2 separate regions of the Homo sapiens genome follow, and region 2 is linked to region 1. Evidence: promoter capture Hi-C in human tissues and cell types (Jung and others, 2019). All regions are on one chromosome and are shown on one strand. The core of a region is centred on a gene start or on the middle of the fragment in contact, and the rest is flanking DNA. Distances in the headings are between cores, read along the strand shown.

Region 1 (5,371 bases), core at 895-3,394:
GATCCTGCATTCTTTTTTGTTCTTGGTTTTTGGGGGGTTTTGTTGAGACAGGGTCTCACTCTGTCACCCAGGCTGGAATGCAGTGGCACCATTTCCGTTCACTGCAACCTCCACCCCTGGGACTACAGGCACAAGCCACCATCCCGGTCTGGATCCTGAATTTTTAATCACTGCATTACACTGGATACTGTACGCCAGGTATGGTGGCTCATGCCTGTAATCCCAGAACTTTGGGGGGCCGAGGCAGGAGGATCGCTTGAGCTTAAGAGTTCAAGACCAGCCTGGGTAACGTGGCAAAACCCCACCTCTACAGGAAAAAAAAAATTATCTGGGTTTGGTGGCCAGTGCCTGTAGTTACAGCTAGTTGGGAGGCTGAAGTGGGAGGATCGCTTGAGCCCAGGAGGTTGAGGCTACAGTGAGTGAGAGGGCCAATGCGCTTAAGCATGGGCAACAGAGTGAGATCCTGTCTCAAAAAAAAAAAAAAAAAAAGGCTGGGCGCGGTGGCTCACACCTGTAATCCCAGAACTTTGGGAGGCCGAGGCAGGCAGATCACCATCTAATATTACTGTATTAGAAACAGTAATTACAGCTGAGCTAAATAATCTATGTCATGGATGCTCTTGTGTCTCCTCACAGTATCCTTTTTTCTTTTCTTTTTTTTTTTCTTTTTTTTGAGACGGAGTTTCGCTCTTACTGACCAGGCTGGAGTGCAATGGTGCCATCTCGGCTCACTGCAACCTCCGCCTCCCAGGTTCAAATGATTCTCCTGCCTCAGCCTCCCAAGTAGCTGGGATTACAGGCTCCCGTCACCAGGCCCGGCTAATTTTGTATTTTTAGTGGAGACGGGGTTTCTCCATATTGGTCAGGTTGGTCTCGAACTCCCGACCTCAGGTGATCCGCCCACCTCGGCCTCCCAAAGTGCTGGGATTACAGGCGTGAGCCACTGCGCCCGGCAGACATGGATTATTTAGCCCAGGTTATTAGGGATCTGTAACTCTCATGGGTCTGTTAAGTCTTTCTCAATTTGAGACCTCAAGATGGAGATTTCTTAAAGTGTAGGAACTGTCTATGTCTCTCAGCATCCACCTTTTTCGGAGATTCTATATCTAATGACCTGCGAAGTCAGATCAAATCAGTTTGAGAGACCATCTGTGTTTTTCTCTTGGTCTAGGCTCTAGGTAGGATCTCTGACTGGGTATAGGACCCCACCCCTCTGAGTCCTAGAAATTTAAATTCTTGGTTCCTTTAATGAAGGTCTATTTACCAGCCTTTATTGAGAGAAATGTTATAGAATTGAATCCTCCATGAGGAATGTCTCCCATCAGAGTCCCTTTATGTGGCCTTTAGAAACAGTAATAACAGCTGAGCTAAAGTGCTCTGAGACATCTCACAACCTAGACCCATTTCAAAGTAATTAGAGTTCACAGGACCCACGAATCCTTCAGAATAACAAGTCCCAATTTGCCATGCTCATCCCCCTCTGAGGGATAACGTCCAGCCAGCCTCAAGAGCTAGGGGAATTTGATAACCAGGGGCATCTTGTTACCCGGGAATGTTACCGGGGTCTCTGGGGAGGGAACAATCACGGATGGGAGTTTCAGATGGATGCCTGTAGAAGATGCAGCCACTTGGACTGTGTCAGGAGTCCGGCTCCCGCTTCCTTTTTTTTCTCTCCCATATCTGGAAATAATAGGAAATGCCAGCGAGTTTTGGGGGCAACAGGGTCAGAGGTGGCGGAGTGGCTCACTAGGGCACCGCAGGAAGAGGAGGTAGACTAAGCCCCGCTGGGAATACCCAACAGCGACTCCTAGTGCTTTGCCTTGTGTGTCCCTTATTTTAGAGTTCCTAAAGTTATAGAAAGCATAAAAGTTTGGTTTTCAAACCTAGACGTAATTTTGTTCAAGAAGACTAAAAACAGAGTTACTTTCTAACGCCACCCAACAAGTCCGGCGTCTGGCTGCGTTTGTCCCACCGGCGCCCCGTAACCTCTTTTTCCGGCGCGTGCGTCACACGCTCTCTCCTGGGGTCGCCGTACCTGGCTCCTTCTGATTGGCTTAGATGCGCCCGGAGCCCTTCTGATTGGCTAAAATATGCCCCGAGCCCTTCTTGATTGGAAGAAGCGCCTCGGACCCCGGTCCTTGGCGCCGTAGTGGTTAGGTTGAGCCCTAGGCGTGGGGGAGAACTGGGGAAACTGGAATTTCCCGCGGAGCTGACAGCGCTTGCGCTCCCCCTACTCGTTCTAATTCCACGCGCTCCAAAATATCCGCCATGGAGAAATCTTGGTAATGACCCATTCCCCGTAAGCATCCCAGGAACACATCTGACCCTTGCCCTATCCCCCTCCTCACCGCTGCCGTGGGAGAATTCTAGATAACCGATTTTTCTGGTTCCCCCAGAGAATTCTGGGTAACTAGCCGTTTCCGTCACCTTCCCCTGCCCCCGCCCCAATTGTGGGTAACTGGCCATTATTGTTTTCCTCTAGAGAATCCTGGGTAGCTATTGGAGAGGATTCTAGGAAACTGACTTCTCGTTCTCCCCACCGTCCAATCCACCCGTTTTCACCCCCAATTCTGGGAGAAAGCACCTTAAATCCCTCTACCTAACTCCAACCCCCGCAATTCTCGCTCCCTTCACCTGATGATTCAGGGCTGAACAAGGCAAGTGAGCAGTCCGAAGTGAGAAGAAAGGGAAGTCAAGGATTAGGTTAGATAATGGGGTGGTGGAGAGTACAGAGGGCCTAGCGGAGGAGGGATAGGGACAACAGTTCTACCACCTCCACCCCCACTGCCCATCCCTCCCCCGCCTGCTTCATCCTTTGGCTGGCAGTCTCATCCCTCATGCCTGCCTCATCTCCCTCCTGCCCCCATAACCTAGAAGACCCTAAGTACCAGTACCTGGGCCTACCCTTGACTCAGCTACCTCTTTCCCCTTACAGGCCAGGATGTCCATTCTAGGCCCATCGGTGCTGTCTTGCTGAAGGTTGGGTCAGGCATCTAAAGGGACTGTGGTAAGGGAGGGTGTGACACAGGTGTAAGCTGCCATCGTCATCATGAACTTTGAGGGTCTGGACCCTGGACTGGCAGAATATGCCCCAGCCATGCATTCTGCCCTGGACCCTGTCTTGGATGCCCACCTGAACCCAAGTCTGCTACAGAATGTGGAGCTGGACCCAGAGGGAGTGGCCTTGGAGGCTCTTCCCGTCCAGGAATCAGTGCACATAATGGAAGGTGTCTACTCTGAATTGCACAGCGTGGTGGCTGAAGTGGGTGTACCTGTTTCCGTCTCCCACTTTGACTTGCACGAGGAGATGCTGTGGGTGGGGAGCCACGGGGTAAGAACTGTACCCCTTTGTGAGGGTTGAAAGATGTTGAAGGTCTTTATCTGGTCTTAACCCAAGGAAGCTGCTTTGCAGATAGCCAGTACCGAGGAGTTGTAGTGATGAGACAGCTGGGTCTGGTTGGAGGGATAAAGGGAGAATCTAGGATCTAGGAGTAAATGACATATTCTTTCTCAGGAGGCATCCCTTTTTTTTTTTTTTTTTTTCGAGACAGGGTCTTGCTCTGTCGCCTAGGCCAGAGTGCAATGGCGTAATGTGATCATGGCTCACTGCAGCCTCAATCTCCTGGGCTCACACAATCCTCCCACTTTAGCATCTCAAGTAGCTGGGACTACAGGCATGCGCAACCAAGACCAGCTAATTTTTAAAAAATTTTTTAGTCTTACTATGTTGCCCAGGCTTGTCTCAAACTCCTGAGCTCAAATGGTCCTCCTGCATAGAGCTGCCAAAGTGCTGGGGTTACAGGTGTGAGCCACGGCACCTGGCCAGCATCCCACTTTTGTCACAATTGCCCATCCAGTGTTTTGATTTATCTTGATAGTTGTACCCATCACTTAGTCTGTAGCCATCCAAATCTAATCTCAATTGCTGTTGCCCCACCTGTGTTTTCTATTTTTATTATTATAGAATATTTAATGAATGATTCTGCATATCTTCCATTGAATCATTTTGTCTTCTCTGGCTGATTTTAATATCTCTCAGAGCAGTTATCAATCTTAATTTTTTAAAATCTGTACCCGTATTGCCAATATGCTATGGTGCCCAAAGACTTTGTAAGAAATACTGTGCTGTCCGGCCGGGACCGGTGGCTCACTCCTGTAATCCCAGCACTTTGGGAGGCTGAGGCAGGCGGATCACGAGGTCAGGAGATCGAGACCATCCTGGCTAACATGGTGAAACCCTGTCTCTACTAAAAATGCAAAAAATTAGCTGGGCATGGTGGCAGGCGCCTGTAGTCCCAGCTACTCGGAAGGCTGAGGCAGGAGAATCGCTTGAACCTGGGAGGCAGAGGTTGCAGTGAGCCGAGATCACGCCACTGCACTCCAGCCTGGGTGACAGAGCGAGACTCCGTCTCAAAAAAAAACAAAAAACAAAAAAAAAAAAAACGCTGTCCTTCATTTACTGATTGACTTCTTTGGTCATGAATTGTTTTTCCATTAGAAGGGATGAATTTTTGTGTGTGATTCATTCAGTTTAATAGGCAGTGTCTACTGCTATGCTAGGCACTGTGAATAAAGCTAAATAAAACATAATCCTTGCCCTCAAGGAGTTTACAGGACAGTGAGGTAAAAAACATATACAAAACCAGATAATTTCATGGTACTAAGCGCCAGTGTGAAAATCTGTACTGGATGCTGGACAGGATGGAGAATAGTCAGAAAGGGCATCGAGGAGGAAGTAACCCTTGAACTGAGTCTTGCAACATGAGTAGAAATCAGGTGAGAAAGATGGGAAAAGGCGTCTTAGCATAGGATAAACAAAGATTCCCAAGATACTACAAAGCTTGCTGAGTACAAAATTCAGGAACTACAAGCAATTAGGATTTACCGGACTGGAAGAGGTAGACATTTATTCATTCAACCAGTGTTTTTTTGAGCCACATGCTAGGTGTCAGACCTTGCCCTAAGGTCTAGGTTTGGAATAAGCAGTAAACAGAAAAACATTACAATACATCAGGTGTTGATTAGTACTGTTAAGAAAAATGCTGGCTGGGCATGGTGACTCACACCTGTAATCCCAGCACTTTGGGAGGCCGAAGCAGGCGGATCACCTGAGGTCAGGAATTCAAGACCAACCTGGCCAACATGGTGAAACCCCCGTCTCTACTGAAAATATAAAAATTAGCTGGGTGTGGTGGCAGGTTCCTATAATCCCAGCTACTTGGGAGGCTGAAGCAGGAGAATTGCTTGAACCTGGGAGGCAGAGGTTGCAGTGAGCTGAGATCACACCACTGCACTCCTGCCTGGGTGACAGGGCAAGACTCCGTCTCAAAAAAAAGAAAAAGAAAAATACAATGAGGCCAGGCACAGTGGC
Region 2 (5,371 bases), core at 1,476-3,975, 350 kb after region 1:
ATGTAACTGCCCTACACTAAGACCAGTCACCACCCAGGATAGTCAGCTACAGGAAAAGGTTTTGAGTTCTCCTTACATGTAAGTCTTGAAACCAGGATTAAGACTGCCCTTGGCTAAGTCCTTCCTGCCAGAAATGTCACTAGCTAAGGAATGGGGGTACATCATAAACTAAGAGGGACAGAAGAACTGGCACTTATACGAGTCATCCTTCTTCTAACCAAAATAGGAGAATAACAAATGACAGAGAAAATAGCTTCAGATAAAAGTCACATCAAGAATTAATTAGAAGATTGGGCTGGGCACGGTAGCTCACGCCTGTAATCCCAGCACTTTGGGAGGTGGGGGCTGAGGCAGGTGGATCACCTGAGGTCAGGAGTTCGAGACCAGTCTGGCCAACACGGCAAAACCCGTCTCTACTAAAAATACAAAAATTAGCCAGGCGTGGTGGTGGACACCTGTAATCACAGCTACTCGGGAGGCTGAGGCTGGAGAATCCCTTGAACTTGGGAGGTGGAGGTTGCAGTGAGCCAAGATGGCGCCACTGCACTTCAGCCTGGGCAACAAGAGCGGAACTCCGTCTCAAAAAACAAACAAACAAACGCAAACAAACAAAAGAATTAATTAGAGGATTGGCTGGGCGCAGTGGCTCATGCCTGTAATCCCAGCACTTTGGGAGGCCAAGGCAGGTGGATGGCTTGAGGTCAGGAGTTCGAGACCAGCCTGGCCAACATAGTGAAACCCCGCCTCTACTAAAAACACAAAAGTTAACCAGGCATGGTGATGGACGCCTGTAATTCCAGCTACTTGGGAGGCTGAGGCAGCAGAAGTGCTTGAACTGGGGAAGCGGAAGTTGCAATGGGCAACCACTGCACCACTGCACTCCAGCCTGGGCAACAGGGTGAGACTCAGTATCCAAAAAAAAAAAAAAAAAAAAAAAGAATTAATTAGAAGATTTTAAAGCTTGATGGCAAGTCCCATCATTATCAATATTATTTGGCTGTTACTTTTTCATATAATCTGCTGCAGGTCCAGGAATACATTTCCAAGATGACTAATAAAAAGGGGAAAGAGGCCAGGCACGGTGGCTCATGCTTGTAATCCCAGCACTTTGGGAGGCCGAGGCGGGTGGATCACTTGAAGTCAGGAGTTTGAGACCAGCCTGGCCAACACGGTGAAACCCTGTCTCTATACAAATACAAAAATTAGCCGGGCATGGTGGTATGTGCCTGTAATCTCCGCTGCTCAGGAGGCTGAGGCACGAGAATCACTTGAACCTGGGAGGCAGAAGTTGCAATGAGCCAAGATTGCACCACTGCACTCCAGTCTGGGCGACAGAGACTCCGTCTCAAAAATAAATAAATAAATAAATAAAAATAACAAGGGGAAGGAATAATTTGGAAGTTCTCATAAAAGATCCTTTATTGAATTAGCACCCTATTTTGGGGTAGTAGTGGGGAAAAGGTAGCAAAGATGAGAAAGACAGACACCCTTTGTATTTTGCATTAGTTCCAGCCTCTATTTTACCAGATTTTTTTTTGTTTTTGAAACAGTCTCGCTCCTTCGCCTAGGATAAAATGCACTGGCGTGATTTTGGCTCACTGCAACCTCCGCCTCATGAGTTCAAGCGAGTCTCCTGCCTCAGCTTCCCAAGTAGCTGGGATTACAGGCATGTGCCACCATGCCCGGCTAATCTTTGTTGTTGTTGTTGTTGTTTTGTTTTTTTGAGACGGATTTTCACTCTAGTCACCCAGGCTGGAGTGCAATGGCGCAATCTTGGCTCACTGCAACCTCCATCTCCTGGGTTCAAGTAGTTCTCCTACCTCAGCCTCCTGAGTAGCTGGAATTATAGGCATGTGCCACCACGCCCAGCTAATTTTTTGTATTTTTAGTAGAGACGGGGATTTCACCTTGTTGGCCAGGCTGGTCTTGAACTCCTGGCCTCAAGTGATCCGCCTGCCTTGGCCTCCCAAATGCTGGGATTACAGGTGTGACCCACCATGCCCAGCCTATTTTACCAGATTTTGATTTTTTTTTTTTTTTGGAGATGGAGTTTTGCTCTTGTCGCCCAGGGTGGAGTGCAGTGGCGCAATCTCGGCTCACTACAACCTCTGCCCCCTGGGTTCAAGTGATTCTCCTGCCTTAGCCTCCCGAGTAGCTGGGATTACAGGCGCCTGCCACCACGCCTGGCTAATTTTTTGTATTTTTAGTAGAGACAGGATTTCGCCATGTTGGGCAGGCTGGTCTCGAACTCCTGACCTCAGGTGATCCGCCCATCTTGGCCTCCCAAAGTGGTGGGCCACTGGGACCGGCCTCTGTTTTTATAAAGGGTTTCCATTTCTGGGGAAAAGAATGGGACTAAGAGGGCCAGCTCCATAATCAGGTCTTATATCTCTTTTCAAAAGCCTTACCGGCCCGGCGTGGTGACTCACGCCTGTAATCCCAGCACTTTGGGAGGCCGAGGCAGGCAGATCACCTGAGGTCAGGAGTTTGAGACCAACCTGGCCAACATGATGGTGAAACCCCCTCTCCACTAAAAATACAAAAATTAGACAGGTGCCACGGTGTGCACCTGTAATCCCAGTTACTCGGGAGGCTGAGGCATGAGAATCGCTCGAACCTGGGAGACAGAGGTTGCAGTAAGCCAAGATTGCGCCACTGCACTCCAGCCTGGGTAACAGAGCAAGACTCCATCTAAAAAAAAAAAAACCCTTACCAAACATTCAATCTCCTATTACCCCAAGGCACTCACCTCCAATGGTGCTCTCCTGGTACTCATGGAACTGCCCTTTGACAAAACGTAATACCAGGCTTGACTTTCCCACTGCAGATTCTCCCAGCAGGACCAATTTGAACTGGCAAATTTTGCTGGCCTGGGGTTGCCCATTGGGCCTAGCTGTGCTTCTGCTAGTCATGGCCAGATTATCAGAATGGGAAAGGGTGGAGGGAGGGGGATACTGTAAAGGGGGGAGGGGGAAGGGGAGGGGATTTCCAGGCTTCAACACTCCTGCAAGAAAAAAAAGTGAATAAAATTAAACATACGTCCATTGAAGCTGCAATCGCTTTTCAGAGAAGGATAGAACCTCTTCATCTCCTTGCTTCTATGAGGACTTAGCTCTGAGAAGGTCCCAGGCAGCTGATCCTCAGTGGTAAGAGTTGGGAAGAGCAAAATAAGAACTGCTTCTGGAGTCTGCCCTACCACATAATCTCTAACTGCCAAGGGAGCCGAAATAGAGAGACTGAAAACTGAGAGTTTTTAATTCCCCAGTAATTCCCCACCAGGTCTTCAAAGTTTTTTGTTTGAGTCACACAAAGTGATCAACCTTTAGCTGGCCTGAAGAATATCCAGATCCACCCACCGGTACCCTAGATCCCCAGTATCTCCTTGGCATCCTGGTGCTGTGCTCTTCTTTTCCTTTTCTTCTTTTTTTTTGAGACGTCACTCTTGTTGCCCAGGCTGGAGTGCAATGGCACAATCTTGGCTCACCACAACCTCTGCCTCCCGGGTTCAAGCAATTCTCCCACCTCAGTCTCCCGAGTAGCTGGGATTACAGGCATGCACCACCACGCCTGGCTAATTTTGTATTTTTAGTAGAGACGGAGTTTCTCCATGTTGGTCAGACTAGTCTAAGAAGTCCTGACCTCAGGTGATCTGCCCGCCTTGGCCTTCCAAAGTGCTGATATTACAGGCATGAGCCACCGTGCCTGGCCTTCTTTTCATTTTTCCTTAGCTCTTTGTCAAAATGAGAGATTCACTCTAGGGGTGTGGGATAAGAGTCACCACTCCTAAGGGCAGAAGGGTAGTTGCTGCTGTATCCTTTATATATGACCGGTCTCCCTGATAAGACATTTCTAAAGATCTAACCAGGGTCCCATTGCCACAAAATCTATCCTTTCTCATTTTTGGTTGAAGGTAAAGAGAGAAATACAACCAACAGATCACATTCATTATCAACTCTTTGTTTCATTAACAACTCTTTTTTCACTTTGTTTCTGCCATCTTTCCAAATCTGAAAGTCTATCAAGAATCAGTAAGCTTGACCTACTCTCAACTTGCAGCTGTCTTGCTGGTGCCTAGGGATTAGATTACCCTCCACACCAAAGGGGCCTAACAGCTGTAGCCCTCCAAATTAGAGGCAGAGAAAGGTATACCTTCTAAAGACATGCAGAAGTCTCCAGAGGATGGTATAGGGCGTTAAGTCTGCAAGCAATCAGTATTTGATGAAAGAATACACTGAATCAGCTCCTCTATCTTCTAAGAGGGCTAAGAAAGCTGCTGGTGGGGCAGGGAACAGAGAGAAGAGTTGGGACTTTGAGATTCTAATCGTCTAAATCTGAATACATTTCATCATCCTGACTCTGAGCGGAAAGGAACTATGAAATTCAAAGGGAAGTTAGCATAGGCAGAGCATGCAAAAACCTCTCTCCCAAACCTAAGCATTGCTTGAGAGTTGTACTTTGCTTGTTCAAATTACTCTTTCGCTTTTCCAAAGCAGATCCTAGTGACTTCACAGACATCATACTCTATGGCATATGTGGGGAAACATCATTATTTTGTCACCACAATTAGTGGGACTGGAGTTAAACTGGGGTTAAAAATTTTCAGTAACCCCACTTACTAGATCGTAAAGACAGAAAATCATACAGGAGGCAATTCAGAGGAATAAAGGCTCTGGAGTCCAATTCTCCACGTTTGTTTTTCAGCTCTACTTACTAGCTATGAACCTTGAGCAAGTCACTAAATATATGTGTGCATTCATTTCCTCATCTGTAAAATGAGATAATAGCCTTATAAGCACCTACTTCATAAGGGTGTTGTAAGGATTAAATGAGATAATGCATATAAATAACTAAAGTATTTTAAGTATTTGATAGATACTAAGTGCTAAATAAATATTAAGCTACTAATCATTACTAATATGATATAAAGAGAATTTCTCTACCTCTCTAAGCCTTACCTTCTACCTTTGTAAAATGGAAAAAATACCATCCTCATAGCTACAAATAATAAGTGAAAGATGTGTTTAGCATAGTGCTAATAGCTATTAAAATATATCTCAATATTAGTTGTTATCAATATATTCCTAAAAAGCAGCCACAGCCTGGGTGCAGTAGCTCATACCTATAATCCCAGCACTTTGGGAGGCTGAGGTGGATCACCTGAGGTCAGAAGTTCGAGCCCTGCCTGGCCAACATGGTGAAACCCCGTCTCCACTAAAAATACAAAAAAAATTAGCTGGGTGTGGTGGTGCATACCTGTAATCCCAGCTACTCCAGAGGCTGAGGCAGGAGAATCGCTTAAACCCAGAAGGTAGAGGGTGCACTGAGCTGATGCGCCACTGTGCTCCAGCCTGGGTGACAGAGCGAGACTCCG

What was found. The method cuts DNA at HindIII sites, captures the fragments that hold promoters and counts their contacts. A contact is called where the count stands out against the background at its distance.
Region 2: a fragment that was not itself captured here is called in contact with the fragment with the promoter of PAN2 in region 1 in 1 of the 25 tissues and cell types used here (liver).

What each region holds. Positions count from the first base shown.
Region 1 is chr12:56,330,773-56,336,143 of GRCh38, reverse strand. It overlaps PAN2 (poly(A) specific ribonuclease subunit PAN2), which reads left to right and starts at 2,144. Exons shown (of 26, transcript NM_014871.6): 1 at 2,144-2,282; 2 at 2,936-3,331. The coding sequence starts at 3,050. RefSeq lists enhancers at 1,707-1,876, 1,794-2,013, 2,139-2,308 and cis regulatory regions at 2,223, 2,208-2,239. The HindIII fragment of the contact is 7,233 bases long and covers 1-5,371 here.
Region 2 is chr12:55,984,502-55,989,872 of GRCh38, reverse strand. It overlaps RAB5B (RAB5B, member RAS oncogene family), which reads right to left. Exons shown (of 6, transcript NM_002868.4): 2 at 2,750-3,004. The coding sequence starts at 2,912. Among named protein-coding and RNA genes, the nearest start is that of SUOX, 10 kb to the left of the region's middle. The HindIII fragment of the contact is 5,763 bases long and covers 1-5,371 here.